2 separate regions of the Homo sapiens genome follow, and region 2 is linked to region 1. Evidence: promoter capture Hi-C in human tissues and cell types (Jung and others, 2019). All regions are on one chromosome and are shown on one strand. The core of a region is centred on a gene start or on the middle of the fragment in contact, and the rest is flanking DNA. Distances in the headings are between cores, read along the strand shown. Region 1 holds the start of TECTB (tectorin beta). Region 2 has its middle 11 kb from the start of GPAM.

Region 1 (6,466 bases), core at 2,123-4,622:
CCTGCTCTTTTGTTAAGGTGGACTTCTAAAGAGAGAAATATTACCATTAGCAAACACCCAGAGTTCACATGAGAACGCCACTGACAGGTCCTTCCAGCCTGAGGATACCAACCTCAGATGAACACACTTCAGGGCAGCGAGTCTTCATAGAGTGCTTACTGTGTCCAGGCACTGTGCTAAGCAATTTATATGCCTTATTTCATTCTATCTTTGCAAAAGCCATAGGCAATGAGAAGCCCCATTTTACAGATTTGAACACTGTAGGCTTAGAAAGGTCAAGTTATGAACCCAAGATAACACCATTGGAAATGTGACAGTGCCATGACCTCTAATTTCAGAACCTGTGATCTTAGTTACATATGATGTAATCCAGGGCTGATGACAATAATGTGTGTTATCTAGGGGTGACCCACTCCTACTAGGCTTCCCTCTTTGAATTTCCCAAGCAGAGCTAAGCACAGACACAAAAGGCTTTCCTGGTGCCTTGCCCTGATCGGGAAAAATAAGCCATGTCTGTGCTAGCAGACATATATCTCATTTAATAGTCTGAGTAACACTGTGTCATAGATATTAGCATATCCTTTCAGGAGAGGAGGAAATTAAAATTCCCAGAAGCCAAGTAATCTGCCCAAGAACACACAGTTAGTAATGACTGAGGTGGACTTTGGATTTCAGGCAAACAGCAGAGTCCAACTGCCCAGGCTTCTCCTATCACATCTCGCAGCATCTTGCAAGCACCCATCAGACATTTCTGCTGGGAAAGAGGAAAGGTGTCTATATCCACTGCAGCCCTGTCCATGAGTGACCCCTGCCCTGCTAAGTCAGAGGTAAGATGACACTGTTGACTTGCCTGGGCCAAAGTTGGTTGAAAAGAGATACATATCTGTAGAATCCTCTTGAAATGTGAACAAGTACTCCAAACCATGTAAAAAAACAATACTGAGGCCGGATATGGTGGCTCACACCTATAATCCCAGCACTTTGGGAGGCCGAGGCAGGTGGATCCCTTGAGCTCAGGAGTTCGAGACCAGCCTGGCCAACATGGTGAAACCCCATCTCTCCTAAAAAAAATACAAAACATTAGCCAAGTGTGGTGGTGTGTGCCTGTAATCCCAGCTACTCGGGAGACTGAGCCAGGAGAATCGCTTGAACCCAGGAAGCAGAGGTTGCTGTGAACTGAGATCACACCACTGCACTCCAGCCTGGGTGACAGAGTGAGACTCAGTCTCAATTAAAAACAAAAAACAAAAACAAAAAACAATACTGAATTGCCAGTGATGAATAATCGTTTATGTCACATCAGAAGCCTTTCCTTATGCAGTTGGGCTGTTGTACTCTTCTGTGGCTTGACTTACCTGCCAAGCATTCTGATGGTCCCTTTTTCCTCCTCTCCATCCCATAGTCCTATCTCTGTGTCCTCTCCTCCCCTAGTTCCTCAGGGAAAGAAGCCACATGAAGTGCATGCATCTTCCCAGGGCCTGGTCCAGTATACCACAGGGGCTCAATAAATGCTTACTAAAAAAGAGGGGAAAAGATACACAGAGAGTTAGTGCTAAGCCCCAGGAAAGAGGAACTCAGAGAATTCACACATATTTTCGAGATTCAAGTGTCTTTTTTCTGCTCAGGAATGAACTATGGAGAACAGTAGAAATATGCCAATGTCACTGTTCACAATAGCAAAGACTTGGAACCAATCCAAATGCCCATCAATGATAGAGCAGATAAAGAAAATGTGACACATATACACCATGGAATACTATGCAGCCATAAAAAAGGATGAGTTCATGTCCTTTGCAGGGACATGGATGACGCTGGAAACCATCATTCTCAGCAAACTAACACAAGAACAGAAAACCAAACACTGCATGTTTTCACTCATAAGTGGGAGTTGAACAATGAGAACACATGGACACAGGGAGGGGAACATCACACACCAGGGCCTGTTGGGGGGTGGGGGGCTAGGGGAGGGATAGCATTAGGAGAAACACCTAATGTAGATGATGGGTTGATGGGTGCAGCAAACCACCATGGCACGTGTATACCTATGTAACAAACCTGCACGTTCTGCACATGTACCCCACAACTTAAAGTATAATAATAATAAAAAAGAAATACGGCAATGTTTCCAGGCCACAATAAACTTGATCCTACTGTTTAAAAAATTTTTTTAATATATTCTTTCTCTTCTCCCTCTCAGCTCATTTGTTCATCATCCATAAAATATTTTGCATACGTGTCATACAATACAGATATGCCTCCTGTTACGTGAATCATAAATCTACAATGAGTCACTTTGTGTTGCATGTAAAGAAAGGAAAAGCAACTCATGGGACACATACATGCTACTGGAAATTGTCAGTTGTCTTTTCATGTAATCTACTTATTTATGTACTACTTACAGTTTACAAGAGCCTTTACATCATTGCTCTCCTACTCTGTAAGTTCAGCCCAGAATCACAGCCACCATTTTACACAGAAGGAAACTGAGTTACAGAACTTTTTAATGGCTTGCCACATGGCTATTTCCTTCATTCTTTGATACCATCATTATAAAACATCCCATCAATTTAACAATAGGTTTTGAGGAAATAAGGAAACTGTACTGTATTACTTATGCATGTTGCTTATAAGATACCTCCCAATGTTTTGAAACATTAAATGATGTGCATTATCAATAATATATCTGGAACCTTCATGGGAGTAGCATGTTATCTGTTGTTTTCAGTGGGATCTTGTCGGGTGACTAAGAATTGAATTATAAGAGAGACTTTCTAAGTTTCTTCTTCCAATGTCATTGCTCTGGGAGACTAATAAAGCTTTAGAAATCTCAAGGGTGTACAATTAAAAGTTGTTCTTCAGGATGAAGTTCAAGACACTAGAGTTTATTTATTGTTTTTTAATTAGAGGGAAAATCCTTTAAAATGTTTACGTTCACACACACACACACACATATATTTATAGTTATCAGGTGCAACAATGTTAAACCTGAGTTTTCTTATCAAAGTTTAGTTTACCTACATACAAAAATAAGAAAGCAGGAAATAAAGCAAAGAAAGCAAGACAAAAGAATTAAAACTGTCACCTGGAATTGTACAGAAATAGTTTGCCTCCATTCAGAGTTATTTTCTGTACAAAAGGGGAAAAAATCAACTTTTCCTCCCAATCTTGGTTGAAGCAGTTAAAAAAAAGTTTTTCCAACTCTGTAAAGCAAAAGAAATTAGATTCAAGTAACTGAGCTTCCCATCGGATTACTGTGCTAGCCCCCCTTTTTATTCCCCACACAGTGGATAATGCATGCTCATTGTGACTTATCTGGAGCTGGTTTCTTTTACATCCTCGGGCTATATAAAGTCAAACTAGGACTGGGGCAGCAGATTTGGGGAGCATCCAGCAGCCAGCCTCTACAGTCCGGAGAGGATGAAACAGTCGGGAACATGAACAACTCCATGTGTCATTGACGCTTCCAACGGTATGAGCCCCACTTTTTGCCTCTCAGCGCTAACAGGAAACAATTAGAAACGACACAACATCGTTTATCTCCCTTGAAAATTTCCCCAAGACTGTATGTGCGGCTTTGTTCTTCCCTTGATTTTAACTTTTCATTCATGTTTCTGACTTAGAATGATCGAGGCTCAGGCCCTGGAAGGACCGTAAACATTTGGCCAGCTTGGTTTGGATACCTGGCAGAGACCAGGTTCTGAGAAGCAATGGTGACGAAGGCCTTTGTCTTGTTGGCCATCTTTGCAGAAGCCTCTGCAAAATCGTGTGCTCCAAATAAAGCAGGTATGTCCTCGCCAAGTCCATTTTCCTGGGACGAAAAGTTTCCTGAAGTTTCCTTTTACAATGCTCAGCACTTCTGTGCTTAACTTGTTATAAAAATGTAATGATGTAGCCAAGCAGGAAAGTACTTAAGCACCCCCTCCAATACCAATCAGACTTTTCCCAAATGGAGCAAAGATGTATTGGATAAACTCGGACTTTTTTTTTAATTAGAGAATGCTTGCTCTATTTCACTCTCTTACTTACACACTCTCTCCCCACATCCCATTATATATATATATAAAACATCTCCACTTTTTTTTCCATTCAACTACTGAATTTCTATCTTGTGCCCTAAATCAGTATTTCACAATATTATGCATGAAATTGACATTTAAAATGTTTAAATTATGTGCTCATTGTTATGGAGATTTTAATATATATTTATGTATGTCTAATACATCCTACCTGTGGTTTCACAGATACATTCCTTGTTCCAAATGGACTAATTTTAATTCCATGTTAAACGTGGTGCAGTCATTAAATAAATGCAGCAAAAACTGTGAGAGTGACTCTTCAATGACTGAAGTTTGGGGAAAACTTTTGTCACAGCTGGTGAGGAATAGCAGGGAAGGTGTTTTTAACCAACTGCTTTTGCATGCTCAGGTGTAGCTGGAATCCACTGTTCGTTACGTAGGTTAGCATGATTACCCTAACTGATTTTAAACTATATGTGTGCTCTTTCCAGATGTCATTCTTGTGTTTTGCTATCCCAAAACCATCATCACCAAAATCCCCGAGTGTCCCTATGGATGGGAAGTTCATCAGCTGGCCCTCGGAGGGCTGTGTTACAATGGGGTCCACGAAGGAGGTTACTACCAATTTGTGATCCCAGATTTATCACCTAAAAACAAGTCCTATTGTGGAACCCAGTCTGAGGTAAGACCAGGCCACACAGTGCAGAGTTGTTTAAGGTAAGGCAACTGGACCCAAGAATGAGATGTCTGCCATCTGTCCTTGAAAGGATTCAGAATTTACCCATTTCCTTTTAAAGGTCAGTCCTGATTCCCAAATATCCTGGAATGTTGGTGTTATTTAAAATATTCTCTTCTGCCTAGTTTAGATAACTCTTTTGGCTTGACTCTTATCCTCCTAATTTGTTGCCAAAGCCAGTGAAGCTACCTTCTAGTAGAACAAAGTACATTTCCCACCTTCAAGTTCTGAGCCTGTGCTCACAAGCCGCCATCCTTCCTAGATTGGATGGGTGGATGGATGAGCCATTCTCTGCCTGAGACTTCAAAGTGGTGACAAAGAGCATTTGGAAGAGCAGTTTAGGGAGTGACCAATGTATAATACAACTTCTAACGCAGTCTTGTGAAGTGCCCAGGATGGGATATCATAAGATAATTATTAGGAAACAGACGCCCTCTTACCAAGTATCATATGACAGACGAGAAGTCTGAGACTTCCCAATAAAGTCACTCATTCAGGGCCACAGAGCCTGTAGGGATGGAATCAGGAAGGGAGGCTAGGTCTCCCAACCTCCCCACCAAGATCTAGCATTCCTACTGCCCTACCTGCCAGAAGGCTGTGCATCTATCCATCTCAGAGCATGAGAGCAAAGAGCTTCCAGGGCCAGCTCCTCTTTCTAAAGGCCTCACAAGGATTCAGTGATTTAATGGGAAGAGTCATGAGCATGATTAACAAGACATCATGTCTTTGAGTATATCCTGGTGAACTAGAAATCAGCTGTGTGGTCTCAGGTCAGTCACTTTTCAAGTGGATGTTCAAGATCCCCTCCAGCTCTAATATTCTGTGATTTTAGAGCCCAACAAGTCAGGCGAAAGAGTCTCAGAAATCGTGCTTATAGTCAGAAGAAGGAAAGAGCAAAGAACCAGAAGGGAACACTCTAGAAATTGGAGATGGGTGAAGCATTCATTTAGAATATTTGGACAGGAGAAATGGATGAAGAGTTGACTTTGGGAAACAGAGATTCTTGAGCCAGTTCTTTTTGGTCAGAAGCCCAATGGGTACATGGAGATTTTTAAGCATACGACATCAACCTAGATCATTTTTAAACACTCTTAGTTGAATAAACTAAGGAACCCTTTACAAAATTATCAGCTCACCCGCAGACAAGAAGAGTGGATGCCACCGTCAGTGGCAGACATTTCTGTCTCCCCACTGGACTTGTTTTTGAGCCATCTTCTTGCACTTTTCCCAGAACCCTCATTCCCATCGCGGGGAAACAGATTCATCCTGACTGTCTCCTTTCTTTGTCCAGTACAAGCCACCTATCTATCACTTCTACAGTCACATCGTTTCCAATGACACCACAGTGATTGTAAAAAACCAGCCTGTCAACTACTCCTTCTCCTGCACCTACCACTCCACCTACTTGGTGAACCAGGCTGCCTTTGACCAGAGGTAAGTTGCTGTGCGGCATGGAGGGCTGGCTGCCTCATGTGTGTACTGCAGGTCCTATCAATCAGCGTGTTTCAGTCCTTATGCAAAATTCTCTCCCCTTTTCAGAGTGGCCACTGTTCACGTGAAGAACGGGAGCATGGGCACATTTGAGAGCCAACTGTCTCTCAACTTCTACACTGTAAGTGGTCTCCAGGTTCCCATTACTTCCCTGTGGCCTTTCCTTTCTAGGAGATGGTGGGATGCTTCCTCGGGATTCAGTCTTCCCCAAGCTCTGTGCAGA
Region 2 (6,466 bases), core at 1,458-3,957, 89 kb before region 1:
TGACAGTCCAGCACCTTAGAAACCGCAGCGAAGGTCCCAGTGGTGGAGTATGTCATGAAAGGAATGGAACTTTGAGTACCACGCAGAGCCCAGGCAAGGTGCAATGAGGAAGGGGACCAGCCTGAGCCGACCCAGGGCCTCTGCTTGGCTTCCGCACAACACAAGCAACAGGGTAAGGGGTAGGAGGGTGGAATGCCCCAAATTATCACTATTGGCCTTCAAGAGAACTTTGACATAAGCTATTTAAAGACAGAGTAATACAGTATTCATTCGTTTATCCATTCATTCATAACACACTGACTGAGAGCCTTTTTTGCAGCAGGCATCCTGCTAAGTGCTGAAGACACAGGGATGAAGAAGGTACACACAGATCCTACCCTTGTGGAATTCATGGTCTAATGGCATATGGTATGTAGGGATGGAGACAGTAGGAAGAAAGATAAACAAACTTAAAATCACAATGAAATTTTTTTAAGTGCAATAAAGAATCCAAACAGCATCTGTCCCAGAGAAGAACAGAGGTGGCCGATATTGGATAAGGTGGTCAGGGAGGACTCCTAAAAGGGGAGAGCAGCTACACTGAGGCCAGGGTGTGAGCAGGGCCTGGCCAAGACAGGAGCCCAGAGCAGACCTCTCCAAGAAGAGGGAAGAGCACAGGCCAAAGCCCAGAGGGAGGGCAGAACTTGGCAGAGAGTGAGAACTGAACCAAGGCCAGTGTGGCTGGAGTGGGTAAGTGGGAAAATGGCAGAGGAAGGAATTGGGAACACAGGCCGACCAGGTCTTTTTAAGCCATAGTAAAAAGTTTGGAAAATTCAAAATAAAATTCTGACATGTGTCATAAATGTCATGGAGGTATGTGAATACCCTTTACCTTGTAAGATTAGAGAAGGGTGAATCAAAATAGAAGCCCATGTCTATGGACTTGGTCAACCAGGAAGAGAAGAAGTGGGCAATGATTCAGGAGCTATGTTGTATGCAGGGGCCTGCCCGCCTGGGTTAAATTGGCCGCAGAGAATCTAGGTAAGGAAGAAAGTAAGTAGGTTTTGTTAGCTACCCTTTATTGAGCAATTTCTATGTGCCAAGCACTATTCTAAGTACTTTAGAGGCATTTTCTCAAATAATCACCTGTGTCAGTCATGGCGCCATCAGAAAAACGAACCCCTTCCAGACAGCTTGCTAGTGAGACTTTAATACAGAAAACTACTTAGAAAGGTCTTGGAAGAGCAGAGAAGACAAAAGTAGAAGGGTGAGGCCCAGAGATCAGCAGCAACACGAGATCACTACCCTCCCTCAGGCTGGAGTGGCAAAGACAGGTGTTGACAGAGCCAAGAGCCATCTCCTCATAGGCTACAACTGGGACCAAGGAGGGGGTCCTGACCAGGAGGAGCCAAAACCATGGAGCCACTGCCACTGGAGGTGCCACGTGAGAAACAGGGAGATACCATGACTTTTATCCTCTCTCTGCCAACTGGGGCTGACCCAAGCTTCAAGGAAGCCTGAGGAATAAGTTTGCAAGGAGGCATTGTCCTAAGATCTAGAGTAGAGCAGGGAAGGATGGGGAATAGATCCAAGGGCAAACAGGCAGATGATGGGCCCGTCCTCTCAATAGCCCCATGGGTTAGAAACTATTATTACTCCCATTTTTCAGATGGGGAAACTGAGGCACCAGGAGAGGTCAGAATCTGTAAAGTGGCAGAAACACACTTTGAATTCAGCGTCTACCTGATACTAAAGCCCAAACATACAAGGGATATATTATTCAGCTAGCCTAGGCAAGAACATGGTAGTTAGAGCTGCGCTAGCAGATCCCAGGTCTGAAAACATTATGATAATTGTTTTTAGGATTTGCTTTGGAACTGGCTCTAGTTTTTTGGTCGTCCTCATCTCAGGGCTAGGCTGCGAAGATCTTATGCTTGAAAAACATACTTCTTGCAGATACTTTTGGGACAAAAGAGGAAATGCTATTCCTTTGAGCTTGGATCCTCACAAAATTTGTCCTAAATTTTTGAAACTCATATGAACCCTTAAAGTTACTTTGTTCTAGGGAGAGTGACTATATCAGTCAGAATGCGCTAGATTATAATACAGTAACAAACGTCTTAGTCTTGAAACAACAGAGTTTGTTTCTTGCCTATGCTACATGTCAACAGCAGGTTATCCTGGGACTCTGCTCATAATGGTCACTGAGGGACCCAGGCTGAGGAAGGTTCCATGTTGATACATGCCTTCGTGTTTGCCAAGGCTGGAAAAGAGAGTGTAGTAAGCTGTACACTGGCTCTTAATCCGCTTTGTTGGGTAAAGAAGTGTAATCCTACCATGTGTCCCGGATAACTAAACATTTGTGAACAGCTCTAATGACAATCGAACCACATTTATGACACTTCTGGTTGGACTGAGATAAACCAAAGGTCGTAATGTAGAATGAAGAGACTTAGGTGCTTCTAACAAGACAGGCTACACTATATAACATTTTAAAAGGTTGTCTTTGCTGTGCTTAAAATTGCATCTCTGCGGACACTATGTCTTTCAGGAAAACCTTTTGTTCCTAAGTATTGCTTAAGAACATTTCCCTAAAAATCACCATTGGTTCTTAAAAGATACTGTCCAAGATGGTTTGTGGAGCTGAGATACTGGCTGGAATGATATGAAAATAAAGCGTCTTGTCTTCTGGAAAAGAGATCCTAAGGTGGACTAGATTTTAACATGGACAAACCCAGACTCATTCCAAGCTTTCTACTGTTGTATAACCTGACGGCAGATTATTGGGTAGGGATGGCTTGCTGAGCAAGTCCCAGCTCTGGGTGTAAAGAGCCAGGCAGTCTCTCCGCTTTCACAACCTTGTGCTCTCCTGCATTTCTTTCTACCCCCCTAGATGTTTTCTCTTGGCATGTTTTGCTGGCTCAAGTCCTTCCTTCATTCTCACTTCATACCATCTCCTCAGCAGGCCAAGAACCTGGAAGTTCTTGACTTTTTCCTGCATCCAATAGAACATTAACTCTTAAACAATTTTACCTTTTAAATAGCTTTAAACCCATCACCCCCTTATCTCCCTCTCCACCTGCACTATCCTAATCCAAAATATCACCATCTTCACTGGGGGGCATAATGACTCACTGCCTGGATGCCCCACATCTACTTCTGCACTGGCTACCCATCCAGACATCCCATACACATCAGCCAGACCGAGCATTTGAAAATGCAGCGTGCCAAATGCACCATGCCAAATACCCCCATACACATCAGCCAGCCTAAACATTTGAAAATGCATCATGCCAAAATGCACCATGCCAAATACCCCCATCGCTCTCCCTTGTCACCATCCCAACTGACTAAAATCCTTCCATATATTCCTTACAGATTTTAGAACAAAAACTAAAGCCTGTAACATGTGTTAAATACCTAGCTCAGTCCGCCCTTGCTAATCTCACCACCCCCCATCTCCGTCCACGTACTCTTTCGCTCTCTGACTCCAGCCACCCTGGCTTTCTTTCACTTCCCCACGAAAGCCAGGCTCTGCCCTTCCCTGGCATTTGCTCTGCCTGCAGTGGTCCCTGCCACATCTCTTCTCTGACTCATACTTCATAACACAGCTCAAGTCTCACCGCCTCATGAAAATTTTTGTGGACCCTTCAGACTAAGGCAGGCCCCTTTCTTAAGTTTCTTCCCCATGGGAATGACCATAATTATAACTAAATACTTAATTGTAGAATTAATCATTTAATATCTGCCCCTCTCTCTCTCTTAAATGGCATTCTTGACTTTTCCCCTACATTCCTAGTACCTGACGGTACCTTGCTAAAGCAGATGCTCAATATCTATTTGTTGAATGTCTAAGTACAAGACATGATTAGCTACTTATGAAAGGACAGGGTGCATGGCTGTTATAACTATCAAGAGTCCTGAACAAGGATAGCCTTAGGAATAGAAACATTCAAGGAGCGATGTGGGAACCACAGAGTTTGGGGGCTTGTGACTTTGTAGCTCTTAGAGCAGGCATGCATCTAAGGTAGACAGCAGAGTTCCCATCTTCTCTCCCTCACCCCACTCCCTGGGTCAGAGTAGAGAAAACATGTGACTACAAGGAAAACTAGGGGCCCTGATCTCCAGTGTAGGGGGTGGTCTACACAGAACAGAATGCCACAATCTAGAACAAGGCCAAGCAGAGCCTGGGAGGAAACACACACATGCCCAATACTCTTGAAAGAAGGAATTTGAAAAGGCTTGAAAGGGAAAAACTAGGCATGGCTAGAGACTTATTTTTATTGTTTCTCCCTCAGAATCAGTCTTTGTCAATAGGAAAGAATTTTCATGAAGAGGAGAAGCTGAACTACTTTGCAATTAGATTATTCTTTTTCTAATGAGTTCAAAGTAAGGTAGAACCTCACTCATTAAGTATAATCGGAAGGAAGATCAATCTAAGTTCAACTAAGGCTAATTTTTAGAATACTTCTAAAGAAATTTAGAATTTTTAGAACACTTCTAAAGAAATTTGACATATAAAAGCTCAAATATTTTCCTTTGGAAAATTTATTCTCTTGGGTGTTCTAAACATACTCTGTGTAACTGTCTTTGGCTTTTAACTTACAGATTTCCCAAAAGAAAAGGCCTCCAAAGTAAAGAGTGTTATGAACCTAGTTTCCAATTATCTGAATTACCTTATATAAAGCAAAACCTAAGTAAGCATAGCAGGATTGGTTATGGTTTTAACCACATCTTTTCTAACTAGCAGTCATCATCATCTTACTCCATACAATATTTGATGTTTATTACAAGGATGATCTCCAAAATGCAAGTGAGATATTAGAGAATAGGCTTTTCATAATCCAGGATCACAAGGTGCAATTTCTTCTTCTAGCCCCATTTTGTTTTACTACTGGTTGGATGGATCACAGAGACCAACACTTCCCTCACCCCATTCCTTTTGCACATCTGATTCTGCTTACAAGGTAACAAAACACCTTCCCCCTTTATCAATCACATCATAGTTATTTTTCCAGAGGCTCTCACTTCTGGGCCTACTTCACCTCCATAAAGCATTGGAACATATGTAAATTAAGCACACATACATAAATTGTAGAATTCCTAGTAACTGCTATAGGTAATCAATGGGTTAAATAAATCAAGATCAATAATGTTGGTTTTTCTCTAGCTTATTTATAAGTGATGTTTTTAGAGAATAGTTCATTTAAATTTCTAGGTCACCTGCTCATTAACTGTTGAATAAATATAATCTAGGTAAAGAATGAATTATATCTAAAGCTCCATCAATTGATCAAATCCTAAATGAATGAAATTTTAACCTCCCAGAGATAAAGTTTCATTGACTTTAAGCTCCACAATGTTGTGGCATGCCTTAGGTAAACAGTCTGAATTTTTTTGATTGTGCTAATAGTTACAAAAATAAAATTGCTTACTTGGTTAGTAAACTTATTTTATAAGCCATAGTGACTCTTAGCCAAATTCTAATTAAGCAAAGCAGTTAACTTGCTCTCCTCTGTATGTGACCTGGTAAGGCATTCTTTTTTTTTTTTTTTTTCAGTAGTGCATATACTGATTTATTTTTTATTTATTTTTTTATTATACTTTAAGTTTTAGGGTACATGTGCACATTGTGCAGGTTAGTTACATATGTATACATGTGCCATGCTGGTGCGCTGCACCCACTAACTCATCATCTAGCATTAGGTATATCTCCCAATGCTATCCCTCCACCCTCCCCCCACCCCACAACAGTCCCCAGAGTGTGATATTCCCCTTCCTGTGTCCATGTGATCTCATTGTTCAATTCCCACCTATGAGTGAGAATATGCGGTGTTTGGTTTTTTGTTCTTGCGATAGTTTACTGAGAATGATGATTTCCAATTTCATCCATGTCCCTACAAAGGACATGAACTCATCCTTTTTTATGGCTGCATAGTATTCCATGGCATTCTTATTCACAAAAACAGAGGTGGCATGTATAGGAATCCTACTATTAATTGGGATGTACTTCAAGATTACAACATGGCTGCCATTTACACATGTCAAAATCATAATTATTGTGAACCATTAATTACAAATCACAAAATTACACTGTCCACAATTGTGAAGGGTCTTGGAATGTTTAAAGTAAACTCAATTTATGGTTTTTATCTCTCTGTGCCTCATTTTCCTTATCCATGAAACAAAGCTAATAATAGTACCTACTTTATAGTACTAAAAGGATTAAGAGTTAAAATATGTAAGGCACTGAGACAACACCTGGCACAGAGTGGGTACTAGGTAATGTTTGCAGTTCCTAGGAAAATGTCCAGTCCCCTCAAAGTCTGAAGGTTCCATTGGATCCAGATATCAGTCCCACTTGCTTTCACAGATCATAGCTGGTAAAAGGTGTATTTCAGAATCACAGCGTTCTCCAGATTCAACTTCAGCATGTTTTTCGTTTCCAGGTATAAACGTGCATAGTTTTCCTTTAACAACTATACTA

The links. The method cuts DNA at HindIII sites, captures the fragments that hold promoters and counts their contacts. A contact is called where the count stands out against the background at its distance.
Region 2: a fragment that was not itself captured here is called in contact with the fragment with the promoter of TECTB in region 1 in 2 of the 25 tissues and cell types used here (IMR-90 fibroblasts and adrenal gland).

Annotation. Positions count from the first base shown.
Region 1 is chr10:112,280,028-112,286,493 of GRCh38, forward strand. It overlaps TECTB (tectorin beta), which reads left to right and starts at 3,373. Exons shown (of 11, transcript NM_058222.3): 1 at 3,373-3,469; 2 at 3,621-3,783; 3 at 4,508-4,698; 4 at 6,044-6,186; 5 at 6,292-6,364. The coding sequence starts at 3,708. The HindIII fragment of the contact is 8,284 bases long and covers 149-6,466 here.
Region 2 is chr10:112,191,924-112,198,389 of GRCh38, forward strand. It overlaps a transcript of GPAM not described here. Among named protein-coding and RNA genes, the nearest start is that of GPAM, 11 kb to the left of the region's middle. The HindIII fragment of the contact is 6,486 bases long and covers 1-5,950 here.